2 separate regions of the Homo sapiens genome follow, and region 1 is linked to region 2. The links are contacts of gene promoters, found by promoter capture Hi-C in blood cells and fetal thymus (Javierre and others, 2016). All regions are on one chromosome and are shown on one strand. Each heading gives the region's core, a stretch centred on a gene start or on the middle of the fragment in contact. The rest is flanking DNA. Distances are from core to core; before and after follow the strand shown. Region 1 holds the start of TPPP3 (tubulin polymerization promoting protein family member 3). Region 2 holds the start of TMEM208 (transmembrane protein 208).

Region 1 (4,962 bases), core at 47-2,546, 170 kb after region 2:
TCCTCCATCTTCACACCCACAGCCACAGCCCTCGGCCACCAGCCCCCACATATATACTAACAAGCCTGCGCCAACCCCAGTAATACCCACAGTCCAGCACTAAAGTGCCCCCCACACCCACAGCCCTCCGCTGCAGACCCCTGGCCACACCCTGAGCCTACACAGCAGCCTTCTCCATCCCCACACCCGCAGCCCTGGGGCTGAGGCCCCTGGCCACAAACCTGCATCCCTTCCTGAGACCCCTGACCATAGCCTCAGCCACTCACCCCCTCCAATACCCGCAGCCCTTTATCAAGGCGCCCTGACCCTCAGCACCCCTTTGTCCACACACCCTCAGCCCTCTGGCCACACCCTCAGCCTGCACTGAAGGCCCCAGTCCACATCCACACACTAACATTATAAGACTCCCAGGTACTATGCGGAGATCCCCTGCGTAGAGACCTCCCCACCACATCCCCCTCCTCCACTGCCACCTCCTGACCACACCCTCGGTCTCAGCAACCATCTTCTAGCTCTGCCTTTTACACTAGGGCTTCCAGTGACCACGGCCTGGGCTCTGCCCGGCTGCCCCATCTTCCACCAAAAACTCCTCGCCAGTGACCACACTCCCATCCCTAAGTGGCAGTTTCTGGGACTGTGAGCACCGGTGGTTCCTACGTTACAGGGACCATAACCCCAGTCCACGCTGCACTCCCCTTCCCTTTCCCTGGGTGCAACCTCCCACCAGGGACCCCAAGACCCGCACTTGGTTCACCAAGGGTAACGTCCAGGGGAGCTTGGATGCCACAGGGTGCTTGGCCCAAGCACTGGGCGGATCCTGCGTGCAGTGCTCACTCCTGTCCGTGGAAAGATGGATTCTTGGTCATCTCAGCGCGGTCAGGTGGCGCTGGGTTGCAGGCCGCAGCCCCATGGGTCTGCAGGCCATGGATGGAGTGGCCACACCCGTGAACTGGAGCCACCCGTCCCGCTCCCACTGGGACAGCTGGAGTCATCAATCAGCCGGACCAGGAGGTGGGGGCTGCGAGGTGGAATGCTTGGGGCCAGGGCAGGGCCGCTCAGCTGGCTCCTCGGCTGGGACCGCCGGAGGTTGGGACCCTTTCCAGGCTGCTCCCCCCAACCCTCATCGTGCAGGATACTGATTGGGGTGGCGGGCATCTGGGTCTCCTATGGGCTTCTACCTCGCGGCTGCTCCTGAAGTGTGCGTTCGGAAGGACAGAACGACGCAGGAATGGACCGATGGACGCGGGAGACCAGGCGGCTCCGCAGCTCCGCTCCCTGCCGGCTCCCGGGTGGGACTGCAGCCCAGGCGGCTCCGCCGTATTATCCCCTGTTTCTCGGTCTCCATAGAGACGGCGAGTCCCACCCCCGAGGCTGTCTCGGCGGGAGAGTGACCAAGGTCACGCCGGCCCCGCCCACGAGGCCCCGCCCTCCCCGAGACTCTCCGGGAGCCGCATCCCGCCCCTCCCCCGCAACTCCGCGGTCCTCGCGACGGCGAGACCAGCGCTCTGCAGTTCGGGGCGTCTTCGGACGGCCCCCTGAGGAAACAGCCTCCCATCCTGGGATGTGCCTAAAGCTCTAAGCGGCCCCAATCTCCAGAAGAGATCCAGCTCCCCAGAGAGTCAACCAGAGGCCACTGGGGAGCTGCGCGGGGCATTGGTGGGGCTTGGGGAATCGGGAAGGAGCTCTCCCTCAGTGACAGGGGTATACGGTTGACTCAAGAGCACTGCCATCCACTGAACGGATGGCACCCCCAGGCCACAACTCCCGTGCTCTCTTGGGTAGGATTCAGAGCCTGGAGCAGTGGGGAAGAAGGGAGGGGACTCCCTACGAGCGAATCGCGCTCGCCCAGCCCCAGGATGCTGGCATTCGACGGCAGCCCTGCTGCCGGGGAAAAGCTGCGGGACCTCCTGGCTCGGCCCCCTCCTTTCGCCGCCACCTCCCCACGGCCTCGCAGCCTCAGCGCCCACTGCTGCTTTCGGAGCCCAAAGCCTGCTTTCTCTCGGCCTCCCAGTGCAAAGCCCATCTTTAAGAAAAATAACCTCCTCCAGGCCGCCTTCTAAGGCCTTTCCTAACCACGAGCCGCACGTGAGCACCTCCACAGGGCAGCCTGGGTGGCTACCTACTATACAGGGACCTCCTCCCCGCCCCCGGTCCACTGGCCAGGGTCGGGCTTCTGGATGGCCCGTGGCCCCTGCCATTAAGAAAGTAAGCGCGACGTCCGCAAAAGCATAAAAAAGTTTATTGGAGCATCACAGCCGGTGGGGCGGGTATTGCTGAGTCGTGGGGGAGGGAGGCCGATCCCGCCGGCCGTAGGGGCCCCTAAAGTGCACTCGGTGCGGCAAGGATGGGGTGTTGCATAGAGAGTCAGGCCGGCCGCTCTAACTCGGCCCTCCGGCCTCTCGGCCCAGCTAAGCCAGACCAGCCTCCCGGCCGCCCGGCGCCCTGGGCTCGCCGCTGCTCGGGCTCACGAAAACGGCGGGCGCACGCGCCTGCCGCGCCAGCGTGGGCTGTCGGCCCCGGCCCCGCGGGGCGGCCAGAGCGGCGCTGCCCAGGCGCGTCTGCGCCACTGGAATCTCGTCCACGGACTCTGCCGACGCCGAGTGGTAGGCGCCGGCAGGGCCAGCGGCGTGCACAGGGCTGGCGTCCGCGGAATCCGTCGACGAGCTGGAGCGGCGGCTGGGGGCCCTAGGCCCTGCGCAAGGGAAGGGAACATGAGCCCAGTGGCTGCGGCTCGCTTGTGGCTCTGCCTTCCCCTCCCTCGAGTTCCCAGAGCAGGACCCGGACAGGGAGAGGCGCTCACCCGACGCCGGATCCGAGGTCTCAGACGTTCGCACTTTATACACGCGCCTCTTCCTCTTTTTCTGCAGAGACACGGGGGAGCCTGAGGGCCCCACATCGCCAAAAGAAGCAGAGGCGAGCGCCAGGGTAGAGGCTTCTTTCTATCCCACTCCACCTGGACCGGAGGCCCAGCACAGTCCCTCCTACCTGGGGTCGGATCCGGGGAGGCAGGGCGAGAGTGTCTGGGGAAGAGGGTGGTGGAGGTTCCGCTTGGCCACGGGTGGCAAGAAACTGGGAGGGACTGAGGGGGAAGCAGGAGGGTAAGCCTGGGGCCTGTTCCCCAAATCCCTCCCCACTGGAGGTGCTGAGAGAAGCTTCCCTTCCTGTTAGCTCAGAGAAGGGCCTGACCCATGCCCCGACCTTAGCCTACCCCCTTCTCCTGCCTCGATGGCCCTGCCATGCTAACTGGAGATGCCCAGTGGCACATGCCCAGGTTGCACTCACTTGGCATTCACTGCTGCTGGCCCGGCCTGGCCAGGGGGCTCTGGGCGCATATGTCTGAAGGTCCGCATGTAGAACTCCATCTCCTGGGGAAGGTGGAAGTCAAGGAGGCTGGGAGGCCAGGTGTGGCTCCCGAGCCTGCTGAGCCCTAAGCCCACGCAGTCCTGCCCTCATTGGCCTCTGTGGGATATCTCAGGCCTCATGCCAGGCTCCCAGCCATGCTGGGAAAACCCCATCTGTAGGGTAAGGCTTAAAACACCCATTTCTGGCCCTTGCCCCATCCCCAGGTCCTTACCTCATCTATTCAGCCTCTGCCTCCTGCAGGAAGGCTCCCAGCCCCCATGGGTCTATAGGCCCAGTTTAGAGAGGCTCAGCCAGGGAGTGGTGGGAAGCTCAGAGCTGCCCGCACCTGCTCCTGGTGTCCCCAGGGATCCAGCCTCTGAACCAATTGTTTTCCCCTGGCTGAGAAACAGGCCTGAGTGTGCATCCACCAGCTCCCGCAGAGCTGAGTCCTGGGCACACCCCTCGCCCTCACAGAGGACCAGCCACGATCCAGGCTGCCGAGAAGGGGCTGCGTAAATGCACATGCGGTGGTCTCCCTGCCACTACACCAAAAGGGAAGGTAGCAGGTGGTGGAACAAACAGAGCCGCAGCCCCACTGAGCACCAGGCTTATGGGCAAGCCCTGATCTTCACAGCAACCCTGAGGGTGCAGACGCGACCCCTGAGAGCAAAGGGGCCTTGAGGCCAGGGGGTTGCAGGAGTGGCCTAGTCCTGCACCCCCGCCCGCAGGACTCGCCCCAGCTTTGCCCAGAAGGACTCCAGGTGAGGAAACAAAAGCCTGGGGAAAGCAGGCCCGGGAAGGGCGTGGTGCGAGATGGGGGCGGGTCCCGGGCGGGGTGGGAGCCGGGAGGGGTTGCCGGGAGCACCCGGACAGCTGTCGCCAGTTCAGCAGCCGTTTCCATGGAGACGGAGGCGTCCTGACTAATGCAGAGAGGACACTGTAACAGCAAGGCCGTCTCTAAAACAAGCCTATGTTTGGGGGCAACGGCTCCAGAGAGGGGCCCCTCCCGCATTCCTGCTGGGGTGGGGGTGGGTGGCTGCCTGCAGGGCCCTGACAGATCTGGGGGAGGAGCCCAGCCAGCGGCCCCGCCCAACCTCTGCCCTGGCTGCTGCTCTGGAGAGGGGTGTGGGGGCGCCAGCCTGGGCCGAGGAGCGCGGGGTCAGGGGTCAGAGGCCAGTCACAGGGACTGGAAACCTCAAGATCACTCTCCCCCACACCTCTTTTCTGCCCCAGTGTGGACTCAGTGACCCTCTAGGGCCAGCAGAGGGGCAAAGCCCACTGGGGGGCCCTGGGCTCCAGAGGGGGGAGCAGAGGAGGGGCCAGCAGTAGAGGAGGTCTCAGAAGCTGAGGGGCCTGGATGGGAAAGGCGCCAGGCCCTAGCCAGCTCAAGAAGTCTGAAAGCGTCCCCAGTGAGTCCCCACTCAGAGCCCTGTCCTCTCTCGCCATGGCTGTCCAGAGGATACTGTCTCAGAGACCTTCAAAACCGTGTACATTCCTGAATGGTACTGGGCCCTCAGCCTCAGCTCTCTGCTTTGTAAAAGAGGACAAGAACACCACTCCTGTCCCCCGGGTTTGCCTCCCTCAAGTCACTGCAGATGGACAGAACAGAAATTAAATGTC
Region 2 (4,485 bases), core at 886-3,385:
TAAACTCATTCAAATTCCAGCTCCACTACTTCCACATATACTGATGTGTGACCTTAAACAAGGTACTTGACCTCTGGGAGTTTCAGTTTCCATATCTATAAAATAGGGATACTTTAAAAAAATCTAGATCATAGCCTCATGGGGATTAAATTTTACATATATATAGTGTGTGTGTGACAACTAGATGTTCCATAAATGGTTGCTGGATTGCTGTTACTAAAATTTCTACCTCTGCAACTTCCCCACCTCAGTAGCTCAGATTTCTACCACCCCAAACCTGGATTCCTTCCACAATCTCCCACCTGAACTCTTTGCCTCCAAGTTCATCCTTGCTAATACATTATGCACACTGTCACAAGGTTAATTTTTCCTATAAAACAGTTTTCAGTTTCAGCTCACCCCTGCTGTAAAACTTCAGGGTTCACAGTACTCTCAGGACAGTCTCCACTCCTGGATCAGCACTGCCAGGCCTCTGTGCCTGATTGGACTCGCTGGTCCCCAAACTTCCCCAGTCCAGTCTCCCCATTGCCCTACGCACACAGCATGTCTATTTCCTTTTGCCTATGCGGGCCTTTTCCCTGGGATCCCCTTCTTGAAGCTTAACTTCACCAACCCATTGTGATCTCTCCTTCCTTTCTCAGATGCCAAGCACGCAGGCACAGTGCTCAGCCAGTGCTTACTGGATTAAATTAAGGTTGGACAGTCCAGTCCTCTACCTCTATTTTCACCAAGAGTATGCTCAGGGAAGGGGTCGGGGAAATAAAGCAGTCATTACTGAGAGGACAATGACTGGCAGAATAGACTTCTGGGCCAGGAAGGGAGGCATAGGGAAGACAGTATTGATGGGGACTGGGACTGACCAAGTCCCAATCCCTCCAGGGAGGCACGGAAGCCTGTTTGAGCTGAGTTAAGACAGTGGCCATCCTGTCTTCTGGGGCTAAGCAGCCAGCCCAAGAGCAAAGGGAGAGGGGAACAAACCTGTCATCCCTTGGGGTGAGTCGGGAAGGGACACAATTCATTGACCTAAGAAGAGGGTGGCCTTTCTAGAGGGACAAGAGGAGGCAGTGATGAGGATGGAGTGACCATCCCATGAGTCCCATCTCAAGGGGGCTACTGGAGATAATGATTGGTCACTCATGGGGTCTATGGGGATGGAAATAGATAGCCCCTAAAGCTAAGGGGGAAAGGGATAGCACTGCAAGCTCAATAGGGGTGGGAACAGGCCTATTTTTGCTAAGGACAGGAGCATCATTCCAGGACCGATGGGAAAGGGTGGCCTGTTTCCCATGGGCAGAGAGAGGGGGCTGCCAACCCTCAGGACAAAAGAGATGGAGAAGCCATTCCAACAGGCCACTGAAGACAAAACCTGTTATCTCCCTGGCAGATGGGGCAGAGTGGTCTTGCCCCTGGCTAAGGGGAAGGAGCAAACATCCCACGGAGTGAAAGAGGTAAGGGCGGCCATCACTAGGGGCCTAGGAATGGGGAACAGGCCTATCCTTGTTAAAGGAACTCAGAGATCATTGCAGTTGATGGGGAGGGAGCAGTCTGTTTCCCACTGCCAGGGAGAAGGGGCGGCCGTCTCTGTAGGAAATGGAGAGATCATCCCAAGGGACCAATGGGGATAAGATCAGTTACCCTTCGGGACGATGAGATGGAGCGGACATCTTCCAGAACTGAGCGGGGAGGAGACAGCCACTTCAAGGGAAGGGGATGGGCAGAGGGCCTGTTCTCGCGGAGATGACAGGGCAGCTATCTTCTGGGGCCGATAGGGAAGGGGAGGACGGTCCCCCAAGCTAAAGGGACAGAGTGGCCCAAAGGAGGAACCGTTACCCAGAGCTAGAAGGTCCCGGGATCGGGAGGGCGGGTCGTTTCCGCCAGGCTGGAGGGGCCGGGCTAGCTATCTGACAGCCCCTCCCCAAAGCTCAGGACCGCGAGGGCGGGGCCTGTCCAGAGCTAGGCCTGAGGGCGGCTTCCTCTCACCTCCAGGGGCAGCGACTCCGCCATCGCATCCCTGCCGCCTCCGCCCCCACTGCGCAAGGCTTTCTGGGAAATGTAGTCTCGCCTCTTTGGGGCGGGGCTTGGGAAGGAAGTGAGACCTATTTCCGTCGCAAAAGCTGACGACTTCGGTCTGCGCCGGAAGTGCATGAGCTGCCGATGTGGTGCTTAGTGATTGCGGTTTCGGTCGCTCTCCCGTGTTTCCCGGGCTGGGTATTTGCCTCGCACCATGGCGGTAAGGAGGATGGATAGGGCGGGGTCCGCACCAGCAAAGCTCTCCAGGGGCTGTGAGAGTGAAAACTGAGAAAGAACATTAAGGGATATGGGGTGGGCCAGAGCGGGGCGCCATCCCTGGCCAGACCGTGCTAGAGCTGGGCTGGGGGGATGGCGGCGCAGGACCATACCAGGACTAGTGCCAGAGCGGGGTGGGCATCAGTACCAGGGCAGGCCAGAGATCTAAGTGACCTGAGGTGGGGGTTAACCCAGATCGGGACTACGCCAGCGGAGGCCTGAGAGAGGCACCATTCAACTCCGCTCAGGAGTACCCTTGGAAGAGTCGTTAGCCTAAAGCCAGACTACCACGGGATCCAGAGGCGGTATTAGCTTAGGATTGAATTGTTCCAGGGCGAGCAAGAGGCGATTGATCCTAGCTGCGGGTGCTGGAGAGATGGCGTCAGCCCTAGGCAGAATGGACTGGAGGATGGGTGGACATCCCAGGGATTTTGCTAGGTTTCTGCACTACGGGGACCTGGCTGAGTTGCGGATGGAGCTCTATAGCTCACCAGGCTGGTGGGGAGAATGAGGAGGACCGTGGCCTCCTGACGGCATCTCATCATTCCTCTGCAGCCCAAGGGCAAAGTGGGCACGAGAGGGAAGAAGCAGATATTTGAAGAGAACAGAGAGACTCTGAAGTTCTACCTGCGGATCATACTGGGGGCCAATGTAAGTGCCTACCTCCTTGCTTCTATGCCCACTTATAGTCAGTTCCCTAGTCCTCAGCCCTGCTTGGTGACGAGGAGTGGTACCCGAAAAAGCTCTAGAAGAGAGCTCCAGTCAAAAAGAAATGAGAGATCTGGGCACAGAGAAAGTGCTAACTAGTAAAACACAAAGAAAATGAAGGCGTGAGTCGTAGCTGAATTTGAGAGCTCTTCCTACCTCCAAGTACACAAAGGCTTCTTTCCTGGGCTGAGTTGGGTGTCAGAGGAGAGTGGGTATTTGGGATTCAGGGAGCAGGGCCCTTTCTTCAACCCTGTAAGAACAACCTTGCTCCTCCCACAGCCTGGCCTAATTCTTGGTCAGAGTTGAGGGAGACCCATGGTTTGGAGGTAACTTCTGACCCCAACCTGATCCTGTGATTGCTTGCAGGCCATTTACTGCCTTGTGACGTTGGTCTTCTTTTACTCATCTGCCTCATTTTGGGCCTGGGTAAGTATCTCCATCCTGGGAGGTGGATGAGTGCGTAGGGTCAGTGGCTGGCCTTTGATACCCTCATTCTTGCTCTGCAGTTGGCCCTGGGCTTTAGTCTGGCAGTGTATGGGGCCAGCTACCACTCTATGAGCTCGATGGCACGAGCAGCGTTCTCTGAGGATGGGGCCCTGATGGATGGTGGCATGGACCTCAACATGGAGCAGGGCATGGCAGAGTGAGTGTCCCCCACCGCCAGCCCAGGTGAGCGGCCCCAGGGCTGGGGCCCAGATAGCCCAAGAAGCACAGCTACTTGTAACTTGAAAAGGGTGGAAGGGAGTTGCAACTTGAAAAGGGTGGAAGGGCCCATATGCTGTCTTTCCAGCTTTATTTCTATCCACAGGCACCTTAAGGATGTGATCCTACTGACAGCCATCGTGCAGGTGCTCAGCTGCTTCTCTCTCTATGTCTGGTCCTTCTGGCTTCTGGTATGTGGGCTGGGGGCGCTCCCAAGAAGGGGCATCTAACCCTCCCCATCTTTTATTCCCTGCATCTTGCTTCAAGTTACCGTTTCTCTTGTAGGCTCCAGGCCGGGCCCTTTACCTCCTGTGGGTGAATGTGCTGGGCCCCTGGTTCACTGCAGACAGTGGCACCCCAGCACCAGAGCACAATGAGAAACGGCAGCGCCGACAGGAGCGGCGGCAGATGAAGCGGTTATAGCCATTGACATTGTGGCCACAGGCCACTGGCCCTGGGTGGCTCTGTCAGGGTGCACAGCCCCTCATGCCTGGAGCAATGAGGGTCTAGTCCAGGGGCCAAAAGCAGTCTGAGGTATTGGGTATACTTATACTCTATAGGGTCGTTGAATAAATGGCTTAGAATGTGGCTGATGGCTGTGTGGGTGATGAGGGATGAGGCAGGAAAAGCTGGTCCTATGGGATTTCCCTCCTGCTACAAACCCAGCCTGGTGGGGACCCTGAAAGAAGAGAAACCTGTTGGATTAGCTAAGAAAATTTTATTTTGCTCCGTGCGTTCAAGGAGCTCACACACATGCACATGCATATGCATGCACACACACACATACAC

The links. The method cuts DNA at HindIII sites, captures the fragments that hold promoters and counts their contacts. A CHiCAGO score of 5 or more calls a contact.
Region 1: a contact is called between the fragment with the promoter of TPPP3 here and the fragment with the promoter of TMEM208 in region 2, in 1 of 17 cell types (endothelial precursors). The highest score is 5.7, in endothelial precursors.

Annotation. Positions count from the first base shown.
Region 1 is chr16:67,392,202-67,397,163 of GRCh38, forward strand. It overlaps TPPP3 (tubulin polymerization promoting protein family member 3), which reads right to left and starts at 1,297. Exons shown (of 4, transcript NM_015964.4): 1 at 1,179-1,297. ZDHHC1 (zDHHC palmitoyltransferase 1) reads right to left here. Exons shown (of 12, transcript NM_001323627.2): 9 at 3,283-3,365; 10 at 2,986-3,079; 11 at 2,801-2,861; 12 at 1,951-2,692. The coding sequence ends at 2,409. The HindIII fragment of the contact is 5,780 bases long and covers 1-3,150 here.
Region 2 is chr16:67,224,995-67,229,479 of GRCh38, forward strand. TMEM208 (transmembrane protein 208) reads left to right here and starts at 2,136. Exons shown (of 6, transcript NM_014187.4): 1 at 2,136-2,230; 2 at 2,842-2,937; 3 at 3,361-3,420; 4 at 3,501-3,637; 5 at 3,803-3,887; 6 at 3,982-4,284. The coding sequence starts at 2,225. The coding sequence ends at 4,119. It overlaps FHOD1 (formin homology 2 domain containing 1), which reads right to left. Exons shown (of 22, transcript NM_013241.3): 22 at 4,395-4,485. It also overlaps the pseudogene FBXL9P. RefSeq lists an enhancer at 1,939-2,288. The HindIII fragment of the contact is 11,037 bases long and covers 597-4,485 here.